Linked DNA regions of Homo sapiens: region 1 is linked to region 2. Evidence: promoter capture Hi-C in 16 types of primary human blood cells and fetal thymus (Javierre and others, 2016). All regions are on one chromosome and are shown on one strand. The core of a region is centred on a gene start or on the middle of the fragment in contact, and the rest is flanking DNA. Distances in the headings are between cores, read along the strand shown.

Region 1 (3,783 bases), core at 1,033-3,532, 110 kb before region 2:
CCATGGGCTTTGCCTGCAGGGGCACCACCAGGGCGTCTTCCTTCCGTGGTTCAGCTCGGACCAGCTGGCTCGCCCCTGGCCCTTCCTCTCCGTGGTGCAGAGGGAGCAGTTTCCAGTCTGCTGATGCCACCAGCTGGCTGGCTCCCCACTGAAGCATTCATCACTCCATTTCTGAGCGTCTGGCAACACTCTCTTGCCACTGAGAGGTATTTAAGGAACATCCACTGTGTGTGAAGGGCCACGAGGCCCTAGGGATATAGTGGTGAACAAACTGCCATGCGACTGTCCCTCATGGAACTTATGGCCAGAAAAATAATGCAATGAGACAGTGACACATTGTGAGAAGGAACACTCTGGGTGGTCAGGGCTGCCTGGAGGAAGCGATGTTTGAGGCGGTAGCTGAAGACAGCTCTGAGGCAAGGCCGCTTTCTCACAGCTGAGGAAAATGCCATGAGGCCCACGGAGAGTGAGCTGGGGGCTCTGCTGCCCCAGGACGCTTCCCCCACAGATTACCCCTCCCCCTGGTGGACATGTGCTGTCACATGCCAAAATGCATCAAAATAGTGGGTTCTGAGGGCAACTACTATGCCTCTATATGTCTCCATCATCCATGCCAGGCAGAAAGAGGACACCCTATCTTCTCAGAGCCCAAACAGTGCTGGGAGCTGGGATTTCCATTCCCCCTGGAAAGGAAGGGACTGAGAAGTCGCTGAGATCTCAGAGGCATGGTCAACCAAACAACTCATGATCCTTTATCTGTCAGTTCTTTTTTTTTTGAGATGGAGTCTCGCTCTGTCTTCCAGGCTGGACAGTGGTGCATCTCAGCAGTGGCATGATCTCGGCTCACCACAACCTCTGCCTCCTGGGTTCAAGCGATTCTCCTGCCTCAGCCTCCCAAGTAGCTGGGATTACAGACATGCACCACCACGCCTGGCTAATTTTTGTATTTTTAGTAGAGACAGGGCTTCGCCATGTTGGCCAGGCTGGTCTTGAACTCCTGACCTCAAGTGATCCACCCACCTCAGCCTCCCAAAGTGTTGGGAATACAGGTGTGAGCCACCGCGCCCGGCCTATTTATCAGTTCTCAATCCTGCGAGTCACACGAGCTCTCTCCATGGTAGCTAAAAGGAATCAACTCTTAGCACGTCATCAGCCAGTAACTTCATGGCCGGCAGAAGAGCAACTCCCGGCGCTTCTGCCGCATTCCTGAGAGAGTCACATAAGCACAGCCAGCTGCAGGGCCTCACCGGGCCTTCACTGCAGCTACAAAGCTTTCAGGGAAATCCAGGGCCTGAGTTAGTTTATCCCTAAGCCAACCCACGTCCCAGGCAGCTAGAGGGGGCTCCAGGACTGAGTCCCTTCTCCTCAGGACTGTGCCCTGCAGAGTCACTACCTCTCACCCACCTTCCCTGGGGAGGGTGTGCGTGTGCCTGGCAGATGTTGTATCCTGTACACACCTGCCAGATGTCCCCATGGTGACAGCTTCAGGCAACTTTCTTCCAACCTATCCTAACCCCTATGCTGAATCTTCCTTTCCAAACGGGGATGACTGTTGATATTAGGGTTGTGAAATCTGTGATGTGTGTTTGAAAACACCAAAGAGTAACAGGGGTCCTTGAAAAACCATCTAGTCCGTGCCTTGCTTTCAGGTGCCAAACTGCAATTTCCACATCCTCATTTCTATGGGATTCCACTCGTCCTGGTCCCCAAACTTCCCACCAGCTCATCCACCACTGGGCTCCCAACTTGTCTCAGCCCTGGAATGTAGGCCCTGGGAGTTCCACACTTCGGTGCTGCCTTGAACCACAAGCTCAGACTAACACCTAACCTCACTGGGGCTCGCCATCTGCAAATGAGGTGATGCTATTTACCTTGCAGGGCCCAAGAGGGTTAGAGATTCAGAATCGCCTTGAGTCTGATCTACAATCCAGACTCGATTCTGACCCAGCACTAGTCCTGTCCTTTCCTCGGGGCCTCAATTCTGTCTCAACTTGGGGTTTTCAGTTCTTGCTCCCAACACTGACTGGCCGTATCCTCTGTTCCTGAAACCTGTATCCTCAAGTACGAAGGTGAAGAAAATGGAGCTCACTACCCTGAAAGCACCCCTTGCCGTTTGATCATTTAAAAGCATGAATCCCAGATTTCAACAATCATAAAGACACACTGAGTTACGAATCTTTAACTGAAATGTTCAAAATGACAAAATAAAAAATAGATGACACAGAAACCCAGAAATTGCAATTTTCAGATCCTAACTCCAAAGGCAGAACACATAAGATAGACAACATAGAAAGAAAGGATGTGTTTACGCAAAGCTGTGTTGAACTAACTCTTCCTCAAGGCCGTCGGCCAGGCTCCCCATGCTCTGCTCCCTTGGTGCGTGTTACACAGATGTCGAGAAGGCCCCGCGACACCCTACATGGCGTTCACATGCACAGCATATGCCGCCCTGTGTGCCATCTCCCATCCTGGAGCCCTGGGTCTCTGGGAAGACATGCACTGCTCACTTGCCTTCAGCCGAGCACCCAGCAAGTGGCAGGAATTTGGTATGTGGCTGCCGTTTTTGCTCTCCCTCACTCCTCAGGGAGGCGCCCCCACTGATGCAGGCATCACCTTGCTGGAAGAGCTGCCATGGCGAGATCACCTGCCCGGTCCCTAAGCTCGCTGAAGACCTGAGGCTTTTGGCAGAATTCCCAAGGCACCCCCTGACTGACAGGGAGTGTGAGAGACATCCAAAACTGGCTCGACCCCTAAGGTCCAAAGCCGATGATCTAGTGGGGAAACGCCAGCTGGGAAAAGCTGGAGGATCAATTCTTCCAGGAAGCCTCCCCACCTCCTTCCGTTCCCTCCTCTTCCCAGTTTGGTGCTTCCACAGCCCCCCCATACTGCACTCCAGTCTACCTCCACCCTGGCCCTAGCCCCCTGCACCCGAATCCTGGTTTACTTTATGACTCCTGTTACCCTACCAGTCCCCACTAGTGGAATGTGGGCTCCTCTCCCCATCTCTGTGCCTGGGCACCCCAGCTCCGCCCCCCTGCACTGTGCCCAGCTCAAACAATCGTTTATCCACAAATGTCTCCATGGAGCTAAGCCCACCACAGTCTAATGAGCACTACGGACCCCACCGGCTCTAAAATGAAAGGAGATTTGTTACTGAATAGAAAGGAAAAATGTGTCTCTTAAACAGTTTTAAAAAGTTATTCTGACATCACTGAGATCAAATAAGAAAATAAAATTTTATCTTCATCTACAGAAATGCACAAAAAAAATTTAAAAAATTTTATCTTCAGAAGACAAGCTTCTTGACAGCACAAAACCCCGAAGTGCTAAATTCCCTCAACGCAAAAACCAAAGAACTCTTTCTCTGCATTCAGAATGATGGCATTCACACGGGGGGAAGACAGGTCTGTCTGCACAACAGAAGGAAAGGTGACCTCATTCATCCACCTTTTCCTGTCTCCGCGTGTGCGATGCTCCCGCGTGTGGCTGCAGAAACGGTAAGTGTAGAGAGGACGCTCAGAGACCACTCGGGCTCGGGAGTCATTTAGACTTGGCCTTGCCATGCAGGTGTCCTGTGACCTCAGACAAAATAAACTCTGGGTGTCAACAGGCTCATTGGTGCCGCTGGCCCAGTGCCCAACTACCAGCAAGTGCTGTCCCTGGCCTGGGCAGCCCATCACAGAACAGCAGCAGGCCATCACTGCTGGCTGAGCCTGACCTGCGACGGTGCACCCCAAATTCTGCTTTCTTTTCCTCCACTGAAAGTGGAATTTGATTTTTCCC
Region 2 (3,857 bases), core at 1,058-3,557:
TGGGGTTTCTCCATGTTGGTCAAGCTGGTCTCGAACTCCCGACCTCTGGTGATCCGCCCGCCTCTGCCTCCCAAAGTGCTGGAGATTACAGGCGTGAGCCACCACGCCCGGCCTTAATTTTTGTATCTTTAGTAGAGACGGGGTTTCACCATGTTAGCCAGGCTGGTCTCTAAGTTCTGACCTCAGGTGATCTGCCCGCCTCGGCCTTCCCAAGTGCTGGGATCCCAGGCGTGAGCCACCCCGCCCAGCCTAGATTATTTAAATATCACATCACAACTTCATATACATTTGAGATTAAAAGTGATAAAGTTCCAAGTCCCAAAGCAGCACGAGCTAAGGATACCATTTCCATTCAAATGAGTTGTTATTCTTCTCCCAAAAAGTGGATAAAGAGTGCAGACCTAATCACCCATCTACTTCTCTGTGTTATGTTACTTTCCCAAGTAATAAATATCACCAGCCTAATGGCCACTTTCTTTAAAGCTTTAAGTCTATTGTCAAAAGAAAAACACACCAATGTTTTTGATGTAGTGGCCTCATATCTCAACCAGCATAACCTCACCAAAGAGGCTACCAAACTCTAGAATTAAGTTTAAGTCCACACAAGTGAAAGTTTTCCAGGTGAATCAAGAGAGATCCAAGTTGCACTGGCACAGCTTCAATGTCTCCATGAGGAGGCTGCATGCAGGCAGGCTCATGAATCAAGTGGAACGACAACATCTTGGGCAAGAACAGGAGGGCTGGCATTCAACACTGCCTGCCTGGTCGGTTCCCTTGCCCTGGGCTCCAACCTGGCAATCCCAGGAGGGTTAAAACAGAACTTCAGCACACGGGAATAACCGCAGAGGAAGGCACCGAAAAGGAGGGAAGGAAGAAGGTGTGAGCTCACCATCTGCAGCTGAGGTTCAAACTCTTTGAGCTGGTTTCCTGATTTTCATCAAGACAGCCAGGCAGTATTTGGTAAACAGTGTACCAAGTAGCCCTGGAGACTCTGAGCAGCCTACCCCCTTAACCACAAAAACACCGGACAGGCGGAGGGAAAAAGAGAAGACAGGATCCAGGAATGGTGCACACACCCAGCCAAAGGCCACCTTCCCTCAGGCACCCAAGCCAAGAGTGGCATCCCCAGGTCCTGTTATACGTCAAAGGCTGCAGCCGTGTGGGCCCCAAAGCAATAGCACAGCTTGCTCCCCTGACCAACCAACTCCTTCTGAAAAGAAAATCGACCTTCTCTGATGGAGCCGAAACCCAATGAATCAATGAAATTCAACAGCAGCAGCAATCACTACCTCTCCAATTGCGGACCTCTCAGGATGCCTGGCCAGGCTTGAAAGCCCTAGAGGAGTAAGGAGTTCGGATTTCTGATTCAGTGAGTCTGGGGAAACTCTGAGGAGGGTCACAAGGGCAAACCTCCCCGGCCTCTCCTGCTTGGCCCCAGCCCTAGGACGTGCTGCGGTAAGGGCTTTGCTCCCCCCGCCCTACACACACACACACACACACACACACACACAGACACACACACACCACCCCCCCCCCCCCGGGACACGGAGGGTGGGAAGGAAGGAAATGGAGGCCGCTCATCAAAGCGCCCGAAATCAGCGCACCCGCGTGTGTCCTGCGTCGCCCCCCAGGCCACCCCAGGACTAAGCCCTGCCCTCTCACCGGCGCGTCCCAGCCACGCCTTCCCTCCAGCGTTGCTCCGGCACCCTCGCCTAACCTCTGCACGTCTCGGATTCCCAGCTTTCTCCTAAATCGCGTCCCTCCAAAAGTCGCCCCAGCTCCCCCTTCTGCAGCTGTCTACACCTCCCCCACTCATTAGCAGCTCTTAACCCCCGACGGCCCTGCTCCTGCACTTCCCTCTCCAGCAGGCCCCGGACCCCGGAAAACTGCCCCGCTCCCACAGCGCCGCCCCCATGGGCCCCCGCCCCTTCCCCGAGCCGACCCCACTCGCCCTCGTCCTCCCCAAGATGTCTTCTCCAGGCGCCCCCCGGGGCCCCGAGCACTCGCCCCCTCCCACAGAGACAGGAAGTTCCGCGCGGCCCGACCCGCTTCCCTCAGGGCGCGGAGCTCGGCGCGGCGGCCCTGACGGGGCGCGGGCCCGGCCGCGGACCAGCGCCCCCGCGTCCCGCCCGCGGCGCCCCAACCGTCGCGGCGACCCCTGACCTCGGCGGCCACTCACCTCCCAATCCGTCGCACACTCCGTTCAGGCTGCCACGGCGTCTCCAGACCCAGCTCCGGCCGGGCTCCCGCTACCGCTTTTGCTCCGGCAGCACTGCCCAGCCCTGCCCAGACCCCTGCGGCCGCTTCTGCCGCCAGCCGCGACCGCACCGCCCCCGCCGCTCCCGCTGGGCTCTGTCCATTGGCTACCGGACACCGAGCCCCGCCCCACAGCCTCCCCGGCGCCCCCGATTGGGCCAGATGAGTAGAGAGGCGGCTCACCCCGCGTGAGGACGAGGGAAAGCCCCAGGACGCGCATTGGTGACTTCTCCTGTCAATCAAACGGGGAGTGCCTATTTAATGGGCTGCGAGGGTGGCGCAGATTACTCTCCCAAAGCCGCTCGCTGGTGGTGGTCCTTGAGACGCGCTTCCCGGGGCTGGAGTTTTGCGGTTTCGTCGGCATCCAGGGGTAAGAGGGCGCGGCAGGGCAGCACCGCACCTGACCGGAAGTTCAGGGAAGGTAATCCTACAGTCTTTCAGAAAGTTTCCTCTCCCAAGGGACTCAAAGAAGCTAATGTCGTTAGGAGCTCCTCCGACTTGCGCCAAAAGCGTCATTCCACGTGGACCCGCTTAGTTTAAACGGGGGGTTGGGGGGGCGTATGTTGCTGCTCTCTCTAATAAAATATATTTGGATGGCAAGGCACCAGGCAATGCACACGCATTCTTTCCAATTCTCACAATCACCTTGCATGATAGGGTATTAGCCCCGTTCTGCAGAGGGAAATACTCTTGAAGGAAAATGGAGAGCACTTCCTGAGCACTGTCCTACGCGCTGTCCAAGCACTGCTTCATGTCATCCAGGTGGAGAGGATGGTGAGAGGAACCCCAGGTGAGGGGTGAGCCAGGTAACTTGCTGGGGGTGATGTGGAGTAAAGAGAGTAAATGGCAGAGCCAGGATTAGAAACCCAGGTCAGCCCAACCCTTGAGAATAATAATGATGACTGTGTAGCACTATGGGAAAATGCTTAAACTAAAACGTTAAAAGAAAAAGCCAGATAGAGCCAGGCATGGTGACATGCACCTGGAATCCCAGCTTCTTGGGACGCCGAGGCAGGAGAATCGCTTCAGCCCAGGAGTTTGAGGCCAACCTGGGCCACATAGCAAGACCCAGTTCTCTAAAAAGTAAAATAAAAGAAAATAATAATAAAAGAAAAAGCTAGATACAAAATGGTAGAAACTGTAGAATTGCTGCTACATATAGATAGGTATGAGAAAAGAGTCCACAAAGAAATCTAGTGGTTGTTTACTTTCTAGACTGCTCTGTGGCATTGTCCTTATGACAATAATTGAGAAAGAAACAAAAGAACCGGCTAGGCACGGTGGCTCACGCCTGGAATCCCAGTACTCTGGGAGGCCGAGGCGGGCAGATCACAAGGTCAGGAGTTTGAGACCAGCCTGGCCAACACAGTGAAAGCCTGTCTCTGCTAAAAATACAAAAAATTAGCTGGGTGTGGTGGCATGCACCTGTAATCCCAGCTACTTGGGAGTCTGAGGCAGGAGAATCACTTGAACCTGGGAGGCGGAGGTTGCAGTGAGCCAAGATCACGCCACTGTACTCCAGCCCTGGCGACAGTGCGAGACTCCATCTCAAAAAAAAAAAAAAAAAACCAACACACAGTGCCAGGACAAACCACTGCCAA

Evidence for each region. The method cuts DNA at HindIII sites, captures the fragments that hold promoters and counts their contacts. A CHiCAGO score of 5 or more calls a contact.
Region 1: a contact is called between a fragment that was not itself captured here and the fragment with the promoter of PACSIN2 in region 2, in 3 of 17 cell types (neutrophils, endothelial precursors and monocytes). The highest score is 9.5, in neutrophils.

The regions. Positions count from the first base shown.
Region 1 is chr22:42,901,843-42,905,625 of GRCh38, forward strand. The region is part of intron 2 of PACSIN2 (protein kinase C and casein kinase substrate in neurons 2); the gene reads right to left. Among named protein-coding and RNA genes, the nearest start is that of ARFGAP3, 46 kb to the left of the region's middle. RefSeq lists an enhancer at 2,669-3,189. The HindIII fragment of the contact is 2,027 bases long and covers 1,270-3,296 here.
Region 2 is chr22:43,012,842-43,016,698 of GRCh38, forward strand. PACSIN2 (protein kinase C and casein kinase substrate in neurons 2) reads right to left here and starts at 2,308. Exons shown (of 11, transcript NM_001184970.3): 1 at 2,180-2,308. RefSeq lists enhancers at 1,910-2,613, 2,596-2,795 and silencers at 2,036-2,105, 2,226-2,275, 2,286-2,475. The HindIII fragment of the contact is 24,608 bases long and covers 482-3,857 here.